Linked DNA regions of Homo sapiens: region 2 is linked to region 1. The links are contacts of gene promoters, found by promoter capture Hi-C in blood cells and fetal thymus (Javierre and others, 2016). All regions are on one chromosome and are shown on one strand. Each heading gives the region's core, a stretch centred on a gene start or on the middle of the fragment in contact. The rest is flanking DNA. Distances are from core to core; before and after follow the strand shown.

Region 1 (6,081 bases), core at 2,411-4,910:
GGAAGTTGTTGAAAATGAATTATAAATTTCTCTTCAAAGAATTAATATGTCAGTATGCTCAATTCTTTGCCTTCTACTTTTAAACTTAACTTCCTCATAAAGCACCCTTTTCCCAAACCGCTCACTCCATCACTCTCTTTAAATTAGTCAATCGGAATTAGTTTAGCCTGTGAGGTCCAACCCTAGCCAGTAGGGGAACGACAGAGCAGTAGGGACCACGTGTGTCAGGAATAAGAACCCCTTTCCCTCCCTTGTCCAGGTGTGTGCCCACCATTGCTCCATCTGTGAGAGTGCACCCTTCTATAGAAGTATCTTGCCTTGCTGAGAATTAAAAAGAAAATTTTATATTCAAGTGTTATTTCTTTTGTGGCACCAAAACTTTATATGTGACAGACTGGAAGTTCAAGAGCAGCCTGGGCAACATAGAGAGATCTCTTCTCTACCCAAAATATTTTTAAAAATTAGCTGGATGTGGTGGTGTACATATGTATTCCCTGGTACTTGGGCAGGAGGATTACTTGAGCTCACAAAGTAAAGGCTGCACTGAGCAATGATAACGCTACTACACTCCAGCCTGTGTGACAGAGTGAAACCCTGTCAAAAAGAAAAAAAAAAAGTAGAATGTGATTTTAAACATCAGAACTAAACAGAATGATATGCTCAGAGAGGTTTCCCTATCCCTATCCTCTCCATTTTGTTCTTATCCCACCATTCTGTTCAAGCCCTTCCCATCTATCCCCGATAGATTCTGAATCTTATTATTTTCAGGATAGTCCTATCAGTGTTTCCCTGTACTCAGAATGAACAGATAATTACATATTTTATTTTTATTTTTTTGAGACTGAGTCTCACTCTATCGCCCAGGCTGGAGTGCAATGGCGCGATCTTGGCTCAATACAACCGCCGCTTCCCGGGTATAAGCAATTCTCCTGCCTCATCCTCCCGAGTAGCTGGGATTACAGGCGCCCGCCACCATGCCCGGCTAATTTTTGTATTTTTAGTAGAGGCGGAGTTTCACCATGTTGGCCAGACTTGTCCTTCAGAACTTTTTAACTGGAAGATATGCTGCCAGGCTGCTGAGCATCGTCACTTAGTCATATAAGCCCCCTCTTTGATTCCCCTTCTCCTCTGGGAGTCTTTCTTCCTTTCCACCCTTTCTGAGCAGCGACCCACAGGTAGAAGCCTGTGGATATTCTCTTGCTGTTTGCTACCTCCCGCCACTCCTTACCTGTCAAAGCACATCCCAAATGAAGCTTGTGTGCTACTGCCGCCTTGTGGTCACGTCTTTTTCCTTACTCAGCCAAGAAATCACTTACACCCTGAATGCGTATATGGTTTTATTTTTCACATTTAGATCCCTAGTCCATTTAGAGTTTATTCTTGTATATGCTGTGAAGTATGGATTTAATTTCATCTTTTCTCTGATGGCTACCCAGCTGTCTTAGACTTTCCATTACAAATGGCTTTTTTTGCCTCATTGATCTGAAATACCTTTTTTTTTTTTTTTTGAGATGGATTTTCACTCTTGTTGCCCAGGCTGGAGTCCAGTGGCGCGATCTCGGCTCACTGCAACCTCTGCCTTCTGGGTTTCAGCGATTCTCCTGCCTCAGCCTCCCGAATAGCTGGGATTACAGAAAGCCCACCACCATGCTTGGCTAATTTTATTTTTGTATTTTTATTAGAGACAGGGTTTCACCATGTTGGACAGGCTGGTTTCGAACTCCTGACTTCAGGTGATCCTCCCGCCTCAGCCTCCCAAATTGCTAGGATTACAGGTATGAGCCACCGCGCCTGGCAAAATACCACATTTATGAACCAAATTCCTACATGTTCTTGGGTCTGTTTTTAGATATTTTATTAGTCTGTTTCTGCTTCATGTGCTAGTACCACATAGTTTTAATTATAGAGGCTTTATAGTATGTCTTATTTATTTTTATTTTAATATAATTTAATTATTTGCCTTGTGTGAAAACTGTTAATAGTATGTTTTAACATCTGCTGCTCATCATTGCTTTTGTTTTTGTTTTCTTGGTTATTATCAGATATTTATTCTTCCACATAAACTTTAGTATCAACGTACCTAACTCCAGAAAAAACTTTTAATATTTTTACTGGGATTATGTTACATTTCTGAATAAACCTGGGGAGAATGTCTGGTGTCAGTGCTATTTTACAATGTAGGAAATGTGGTCCTGGCCCATGTGGGAAGATCAGAAAAATAACAATAGAAATACATGTTTTTGGCCAGGCGTGGTGGCTCACATCTGTAATCCCAGCACTTTGGAAAGGTGAGGCAGGCGGATCATGAGGTCAGGAGTTCGAGACCAACTGGGCCAATATGGTGAAACCCTGTCTTTACTAAAAATACAAAAATTAGCCGGGCATGGCGGCGCCTGCCTGTAATCTCTGCTACTCAGGAGGCTGAGAGAGAAGAATCGCTTGAACCCGGGAGGCAGAGGTTGCAGTGAGCAAGATCGTGCCACTGCACTCCAGCCTGGGCAACAGAGCTAGACTCCATCTCAAAACAAAAACAAAAACATATTTAAAATTTTTTTTAAACAGAGACGGGGTCTTGCTGTATTGCCCAGGCTGGTCTCAAACTCCTGGCCTCAAACGATCCCTTGGCCTCCCAAATTGCTGGGATTATAGGCATAAGCCACCATACCCAGCCAGAAATACATACTTGATGAAGACAAAAAAAAATCAAGATTTACAGAAAATATTATTATATTGAAAACGTGGCCGGGTGCGGTGGCTCATGTCTATAATTCCAGCACTTTGGGAAGCTGAGGGAGACAGATCATTGGAGGTCAGGAGTTCGAGATCAGTCTGGCCATCATGGTGAAACTCTTCTCTACTAAAAGTACAAAAATTAGCTGGGCGTGGAGGCAGACATCTGTAATCCCAGCTACTCGGGAGGTTGAGGCAGGAGAATCACTTGAACCCGGGGGGCAGAGGTTACAGTGAGCCGAGGTCATGCCACTGCACTCCAGCCTGGGCAACAGAGTGAGATCTGTCTCAAAAAAAAATAAAAAATGAAAAAGAAAAACGAAAAAAGAAAACGCAATGGAACCAGCAGGTTCTAAAAAATAAAGAATGAAGAAATAAAGGCCTACAGAAAGCCTGACTGAATAGAAGAGATAGACCATGCCATTCACTGGCAGCTTTATCCATATGGAAGAATCATGGAAAGGCTCTAGGAACATGAGATGTATACAAACAAGCTTTATATATATGTATACACACATATATATTTTAATAAAGGATGTTGCTATTTTGCCCACGCTGGTCTTGAACTCTTGGACTCAAGCTATCCACCTGCCTTAGCCTCCCAAAGTGTTGGACTTACAGGCCTTAGCCACTGTGCCCACCTGGGAAAAGCTCTGCAGGAGCATCCCCTGGGGTGCGTCCCATCCCCCACGCCCGCCCTTCCAGCAGGTCCGGCCACCTGAACCGCCGGCTAGCCGGGTCCCACCTCTAAACCGCCCCCAAGTAAGGGCCTGTCCGCGCCCACCCGGGAAGAAACTACAATTTCTGTGTTTGACTGGGTCCTATGTGGCTGAAACTCGAACCCAGGAGCCCCGCCCGGCCCGAGGCTCGGAGCGGAAGTGACGTCAGCGCACAATCGCCATCTTTTCCGGCGCTGGCTCCGCATGGTCAGTGCCATTTCGCCTTTATCGTGGTGGAGTCCACCCTGGCTGTGGTGAGTTCCGCCTGCTTGGGGATCCCGGAGATAGCGGGGGGCGGCAAAGGAACGATTGGGTGCTGTCGCCCAGGAGCCTCTCCGATCCGCCTCGTTTCACTCTCTTCTCCAGGGGCTGTCGGTCCTCCTTGCGCGGCCAGTGGCTAGAGGCCGCAGGCTCAGTGGGTCCCAGTCAGGAGCCAGGTCGGGAAGTGTGTTTGTCCCGACTCCGCGCGTTTTCTGGAGTGGTTTCATCCGCTGTGCTCCCTTCTTCAAAAGCTTGGAAAGCAACCTTTGTGAGTTTCTTTCTTTCTGAAAGTAAAAGGATTTCTGCCGTTCCAGTCAGGTTGGCTCCGGCCCCGCATTTCCGCGCCTCAGGAACCTGGCGTTTCCGGCATGTTCCTGGTGAACACCTGCAGAAAATTGGTTTCAAGAGGGCTCTGACTTCCATTTCTTTGCTTAAAAATGTCTCGTCTGAGAATCTGGCATTGATGTCCTATTCTTATTTTTGACACATTACTTTCTGATGGAAAAAAAATAGTCGTTTAGGGTGTGCCTATATCTGCATGTAAATATGAACACGTGTAGACTGTGAGCCTTTAGTTTCTTATTTTATTTTCTTGGACTTAATGTTTTTTGTTGTTACCAGCTACAAGCCTTTCTACAAAAGAAAGGCAGGCTGGGCGCGCTGGCTCACGCCTGTAGTCCCAGCCATTTGGGAGGTCGAGGCGGGCAGATCACCTGAGGTCAGGAGTTCGAGACCAGCCTGGCCAACATGGTGAAACCCTGTCTCTACTAAAAATACAAAAAATTAGCCAGGCGCGATGGCGGGCGCCTGTAGTCCCAGCTACTCGGGAGGCTGAGGCAGGAGAATGGCGTGAACCCGGGAGGCGGAGCTTGCAGTGAGCCGAGATCGCGCCACTGCACTCCAGCCTGGGCAAAAGAGGGAGACTCCGTCTCACACACACAAAAAAAAAAAAAAAAAAAAAAAAGCCAGGCTTGGTGGCAGTCCCCTGTAATCCTAGCTACTTGGGAGGCTGAGGCAGGAGGATTGCTTGAACCTGAGAGGCCGAGGTTGCAGTGAGCCGAGATCTGCCACTGCACTCCAGCCTGGGCGATGAGAGCGAAACTCCGTCTCAAAAAAGAAAGAAAGGCAATAATACACAGCTGTTGTCTTTATCTGAAGTTCCTAGGTCTGTACCCCCCCACAGAGCTTCAAAACGGGCCCACAGGAAGAAAGGATGGAGGCTTTTGTTTGTTTTTTTCAGACGGAGTCTTGCTCTGTCGCCCAGGCTGGAGTGCAGTGGCGCGATCTCAGCTCACTGCAACCTCCACCTCCTGGGTTCAAGTGATTCTCCTGCCTCAGCCTCCGAGTAGCAGGGACAACAGGCATGGGGACCATGCCCAGCTAATTTTTTTTTTTTGTATTTTTAGTGGAGACAGGGTTTCACCATGCTCGCCAGGCTGGTCTCGAACTCCTGACCTTGTAATCCGCCTGACGGCCTCCCAAAGAGCTGGGATTACAGGCGTGAGCCTCCGCTCCTGGCCAGGATGGAGGCTTTATAATCAGAATATTATTCTAGTATTAGTGTAATAAAGTAGTATCTATTGAATTTATTAACAGCATGTTTAGACTAAGTGTAGTTTTGACATTTTTTTCTGAAAAATTTGATCCTAGGGAAAACTTGAACATCTAACACACCCAGTCTAGTAGTTTTTTTTTTTTTTTTTTTGAGACAGAGTCTCGCTCTGCTACCCGGGTCGGGGTGCAGAGGTGCGATCTCGGCTCACTGCAACCTCTGCCTCCCAGGTTCAAGTAATTCTCCTGCCTCCCTAGCATTAGGTGCGTCCATGTGAAGAGACCACCAAACAGGCTTTGTATGAGCAATAAAGCTTTTAATCACCTGGGTGCAGGCAGACTGAGTTCAGAAAAGGAGTCAGCAAAGGGAGATAGGGGTCGGGCAGTTTTATAGGATTTGGGTAGATAGTGGAAAATTACAGTTAAAGGAGGTTGTTCTCTTGCGGGCAGGGGCGGGGATCACAAGGTGCTCAGTGGGGAGCTCCTGAGATTCATTGTCCAGGAGAAGGAATGTCACAAGGTCAATTGATCAGTTAGGTTGGGGCAGGAACAAATCACAATGGTGGAATGTCATCAGTTAAGGCAGGAACTAGCTATTTTCGCTTCTTCTTGTTGTTCTTCAGTTGCTTCAGGCCATCTGGATGTATACGTGCAGGTCACAGGGAGTCTGATGGCTTGGCTTCGGCTCAGAGGCCTGACACCTAGTAGCTGGGACACAGGCACATGCCGCCATGCCCAGCTAATTTTTTTTTGTATTTTAGTAGAGACAAGGTTTCACCATGTTGGCCAGGCTGGTCTCGAAATCCTGAGCTCAGGCAGT
Region 2 (6,081 bases), core at 1,072-3,571, 240 kb after region 1:
TCTGGCGATGATATCAAAGATCTATTTTCATTTAAGAATAAAATTGTGGCCAGGTTCAGTGGCTCACGCCTGTAATCCCAACACTTTGGGAGGCCAAGATGGGAGGATCGCTTGAAGCCAGGAGTTCAAGACTGGTCAACATAGTGAGACCCCAATCTCTATTTTAATTTAAAAAATAAAAAAATAAAATTATGTAGCTTATTATAATGTTAATATATTCTAAGTATAATGTTAATATAAATCTTCCAGAACAAATTAACAAGGGTGCAGCATACAAGATGAATATATGTAAAAAAACTGTGTTCCTCTATAGTAGTAGTGAACTAGCAGAGAAATTGAAATTTTTAAAATACCATTTGCAATAGTGTCAGAGAAAAAATGCCTAGGAAGACCCAAACACCGAAAAACACAAATACTACTGAGAAAAAAATTATAAATCCTAAATAAGTGGAGAGATATATTATGTTCATGGGTTGAAATGCTCAATATTGTGAAGACATCAATTATTCTGCAGATTCAACACAATGATAATCAAAATCTTAGTGAATTACTTTGGGGGTGTGGGGTGGTGCTGGTAGAAATTGACAACCTGATTCTAAACTTTATATGGAAATACGAAAGTCCTGTAACAGCTGTAAGTCAACAAGGTACAGCCACATCAAGACCAAATGTGGCTCACAGCCTATAACTGTATAGGTTGAATGGAATGTGAGAACTATTTTTATATTTTAAAAGGTCTGTAATAGAAAAAATAATATGCAACAGAAACTATATATAGCATGTAAAGCTTAAAATCTCTACAATCTGGTCTTTTATAAAAAACTTTGCCAACCTCTGACCTAAAATAGTAAAGACAACTCTGAAAAGAAAAAGCTGGAAGACTAAACTCTATCGGACTTCAAAAGTTATGAAGTTGTCAAGAGAGGGTAGTCTTGGAATAAAAGATAAGTAGCTATATGGAACAGAACAGTTGAGAAGCAGACACACGTATAAAGACAACCAATATTTCAAGAAAGAAGCAAAGGCAATTAAGTGGAGAAAGGATAGTCTTTTCAATAAATGATGCTAGAACAATGAGATACAAAGAAAAAAAAAACCCCAAATTTTGATCCAATCTTTGTGCCATATAAAGATTTTAACTCAAAGTGCACCATGTACTTGTACCACAAGTACAACATATTAAATATATTGTAATACAGATACTCCTCAACTTATGACAGGGCTATGTCCTGACAAACCTATTGTAAGTTGAAACTATCATAAGTTGACAATTTGTAACCCCATCATAAATTGAGAAACATATTGAATGCATAATATGTTTGCACCATTGTAAATTAAAAACAATACTAAGTCAAACTCCATAAATTGGGAAGTGTATTTATGTTACCTCTGTTAAAATGAAATGTTTTATTATATATTTAAATGTACATTATATTAAATATAAAGTATTAATATCAAATACACTAATAGGTTTAATATTAAATATATTACAAATTTTAAACTCTCAAAATTCAATAAATATTGCAAAACCACATGATCGTGCCACGCACTTCAGCCTGGGAGACAGAGTAAAACCCTGTCTCTATATAAAAAAAAATAAAAATAAATAAAAAATAAAGCCAATATAAACAGGCAAAAGATTTGAACAGACTCTTCCCCAAAGGCTTAAAGAAGGCCAGTAAGCACGTGAAACCATGTAAGACATCATTAGTCACTAGGGAAATGCAAATTAAAACCATGAGATACTACTACACACCTATTAAAATGGTCAAAATAAAAAAGACTGACCATACCAATAATTGGCAAGGATGCAGAAGAATTGCAACTCTTATATACTGCTCATGGAAATGTCAAATGGCATAACTACTTGAGAAAGGTTTAGCAGTCTCTTAAAAACTTAAACGTACACTAACATATGATCTGATCATTCCACTCTTAACTATTTAAAGAAACAGAAGCACATGTTTAAAGAATAATCTGCATATGGGTATTCAAGGCAGTTTTAATTGCAATAGCCAAAAGGTAGAAATAACACATGGATAAATAGCTTGTGGTATGCCTTGCAATGGAATACTATTCAGCAGTGAAATGGACCCTACAACATAAATGGATCTGAAAAAATTATCCTGAAAGATGCCAGACTATATGATTCCATTTATATAAAAACTGTACATAATATAAAGTCGTCTATTCTAAGAGAAAGCAAATCAGTGGATCAGGAGAGTGACAGGCAGGGAAGGGTGAGGAGAAGAAGAAATTATAAAAGGGCATGAGGAAACCATCTGGTTTGATAGGTATGTTCATTATCTTGATGGTGTGTATGTACACATATGTGTATGTGTCCAAACTTAAAGTGTATGCTAAAAACATGTGCAGTTTATTACATGGCAATTATATCTCAAACTTACTGAAAGAACCTGCCTCAATAATTCAAACCAAAGATTCTCAGCAACAGTGAAAAAAGATCATTAAATGTACACTTCACCAAAGACTCATAAGCATATGAAAGTGATGTTCAATATCATTAGTCTTTAAAGACATATAGAAAGGCAAACTTAAATAATTTATTTGGTTTTCTTTGCTGGCGTCAATTTTCTTTTTTTTTTGAGACAGGGTCTCATCCTGTTGCCCAGGCTAGAGTGTAGTGGCACGATCAGGGCTCACTGCAACCTCTGCCTCCCTGACCAGGCTCAAGCAATCCTCTTGCCCCAGCCTCCTAAATAGCTGGGACTATAGGCACAAACCAGTACACCCAGTTAATCTTATTTATTCTTTGTCAAGATGAGGTTTCACTATATTGCCCAGGCTGGTCTTGAACTCCTGGGCTCAAGTGATCCTTCTGCCTTGGCCTCCCAAATTGCTGGAATTAAGGTGTGAGCCAGCATGCCTGGCCAGTACCAATTTTCTTGTGTGCAATAAGTGAAAATTTGTACCCCTAAATGTTCCTCAATTCCCTATAACTAAGTTTTTCATTAAAAAACCCTCTGAGGATATTTTAATTTTTTTTTCTTTTTTTGAGATGGTCTTACCATATCATCCAGGCTGGAGTGCAGTGGCGTGATCTGAGCTCACTGCAGCTTCCGCCTCCCGGGTTCAAGCAATTCTGCCTCAACCTCTCGAGTAGCTGGGATTACAGGCACGTACCACCATGCCTGGCTAATTTTTGTATTTTTAGTAGAGATGGGGTTTCACCACGTTGGCCAGGCTGGTCTCGAACTCCTGACCTCAAATGATCCACTCGCTTCGGCCTTTCAAAGTGCTGGGATTACAGGAATGAGCCACTGCACCCAGCCTAAAATTGTTTTAAAGACTAGGGAAGTGTAGTAGTGACAAATGGGGGAAAGAGTGGAACTCCTCAATAATAAAGAGTTCCATCTGTAACCGTGAACAATTGAGATAACTCAGGATCTTCAGACCAGCTAGATATTTTTATTAATGATATATAACCTCTTTAAAACATGTATATTTACCAAAAGCATTCTGATATGGCATTCCTCTAGTGTGACTTTTTGCATGTAAATTAATACAGCCTTTTTGACCTTCCATACAGTCAGGTTCCTCTTCAGTGTGGATGTTTCCTAACGACCAAGTTCAAGGGCTTTCCAACATCTCTTTCACTCATGGGACTTCTCAATGTGTGCTTTGACATGTTCCCAAAGTGGAAGCTAAAAACAAAGAAGAATCTCCACACATTTTACATTCATAAGATTTTTCACACTTGTGAGATCACAGCTGAATATTAAGGTATAAGGCAGAGTGAAAGGTTTCAACACATTCCTTACAGCCAGAGGACGTGCATTTATATCCAATGTGCTCACAAGCTCAGTAAGGCCCGAGGAAAATAATGAAAGCTTTTCCACCTTCCTCACATTCATAGCATTTCTCTCCAGCATGAGTTCAAACAGACTCAGTAAGATGTAAGCATCGACAGGTTTCCTACGTTCAGTTTGTTTCCTAGGATGCACAGACACATGAATAGTAAGGCCTATGGAAGGAGCCAAGATTTTCCCACATTCCTTACATTCATATGTCTTCTCTTCTATTGGAATTGTTAAGATCTGAGACACCAAGGAAGGCTTCCCACATTCCTTATGACTGTGTACATTGCCACTATGAATGAGTACATGTTCAGTAAGTGTGAGGAAGTAGTGGCTTTACCACATTCTTTCCAAGTATCAGCCCCAATTCACACACATTCAGTAAGGCATGAGGAATTACTAAAGGTTTGCCCACATTCCTTATATGGTTTCTCCACACTATGACTTCTTAGATGTCGAATAAGATATGTGGACCGAGTAAAGGCTTTCCCACATTCCTGACATTCAAAGGGCCGTTCACCAGTGTGAGTTCTCATGTGTACTGTAAGGCCTGATGAGATACTGAAGGCTTGCCCACACTTTTGACATTTATATGGCCTCTCCCCTGTATGTATTCTTTTATGTTGACTAAGGTGCGAGGAGTATCTAAAGGCTTTCCCACATTCCTCACATTCAAAAGGCCTTTCTGCACTGTGACTTCTCAAATGTCGAATAAGAAATGAGGATCGAATGAAGGCTTTCCCACACTGTTGACAGTCATAGGGTTTTACACCAGGATGAGTCTGCATGTGACTTTTAAAGGAAGAGGAATTAATAAAGGCTTTTCCACATTCCTTACATTGATAAGGCTTCTCACCAGTGTGAGTTCTCATATGTACAGTAAGATGTGAAGAGTTAGCAAAAGCTTTCCCACATTCCTTACATTCATAAGGCTTTTCTCCAGTGTGAGTTCGCCTGTGTTTTATAAGACCTGATGAATCAGTGAAGGCTTTCCCACATTTGTTGCACTCATACGGTTTTTCTCCAGTGTGAACCCTTATGTGAATGTTGAGTTTTGAGAAACAAGTAAATTCTTTGCCACATTCATTACAAACATAGTGTTTTCCTCTAGTTCTAAGTCTTATATGTTTAGCAAGATCTGGGGAAAAAGCAAAGGCTTTGCCAAATTTCTTATGTTCTATAGGTAACACTCTACTATGAGTTCTTAAATGTTGAGTAAGATATGACGACTCAGTGAAGGGTTTCCCACATGCTTTACATTCATAGAATTTTTCTCCATCTTGAGTTTGCATGTGTACAAAAAGGGCTGTAGAATGAGAAAAGGTTTCGACATACTCCTTATGAGTATATGGTCTCTCTCCACCATAAATTCTTACACATTCTCTGAGGTGTGAGGAGGAAGGTAAGCCTTTTTCACAGTCACTGCATTTATATGGTTTCTCTTGAGTGTGAGTTTTCTTGCAAACAAGATGTAGATTTTGGCTAGTTTTCTTGCAAACAAGATGTAGATGTTGGCTGAAGGCTGTTTCACATTGATTACAGTTAGGAAGTTCCTCTCCGATATCAGTTTTCTTGTGTAAAGTAAAGATAGAGGGTTTTCTGAAGGCTTTTTCACATTGATTACACTCACAGGTTTTCTTTCTAAAGTAAGTTCTCCTGTGAGTCTTAAGGCATGAGTGTTCACTCAAGGCTTTTTCACATTGGTTAAAGTCAAACAGTTCCTCTCCAAAATGGTTTCTCTCCTGTTGGTGAAAATTAATGATGGTTCATAGAAGTTTTCCAAATTTATTTCATTGAGATTCTCCCTTTTACTCTGAATTCTGTTACACATGGAAAATAAGTTAGTATAATTGAAACTGTTTGTTCCTGCCATTTTCATTGCAAGGCATGGTTCAGACCTGAGTGTTTTCAAGTGGAACAAAGTGACTGCAGGAAGTTCTGTTATATTCTTTACTTTCAGAGGGCTTCTAAATAGAGCTTAGCTGATAACGGCCCAAGAGTGAATTATTTATCAAAAACATCTGAGATACATATGGGAATGTTGAAGGAAATATGTAAACAAATATATTCTGAGGGATGTTTAGAGTGTTTGTCAAACTCATGATCCATAGTCTCTCCAAGAGACAGATTATTTTTGGGTGAAAAACACTAGTCTCAAATGTCTCAAGGTTATTGTGCTGCTTTTCCATTTTAAGGAATTTCCAATCTTCCTCTAACATGGAAGACAATAAATTATACCTTCTGAATCTTACCATTTCCACCA

The links. The method cuts DNA at HindIII sites, captures the fragments that hold promoters and counts their contacts. A CHiCAGO score of 5 or more calls a contact.
Region 2: a fragment that was not itself captured here is called in contact with the fragment with the promoter of ZNF121 in region 1 in 1 of 17 cell types (total CD8 T cells); the score reaches 5.3 in total CD8 T cells.

Annotation. Positions count from the first base shown.
Region 1 is chr19:9,582,083-9,588,163 of GRCh38, reverse strand. ZNF121 (zinc finger protein 121) reads left to right here and starts at 3,660. Exons shown (of 4, transcript NM_001008727.5): 1 at 3,660-3,703. RefSeq lists enhancers at 3,270-4,081, 4,896-5,708, 5,709-6,081. The HindIII fragment of the contact is 737 bases long and covers 3,227-3,963 here.
Region 2 is chr19:9,341,174-9,347,254 of GRCh38, reverse strand. It overlaps ZNF559 (zinc finger protein 559), which reads right to left. Exons shown (of 7, transcript NM_032497.3): 6 at 6,071-6,081; 7 at 1,384-5,560. The coding sequence ends at 4,187. ZNF559-ZNF177 (ZNF559-ZNF177 readthrough) reads right to left here. Exons shown (of 13, transcript NM_001384659.1): 6 at 6,071-6,081. Among named protein-coding and RNA genes, the nearest start is that of ZNF177, 19 kb to the left of the region's middle. The HindIII fragment of the contact is 3,064 bases long and covers 790-3,853 here.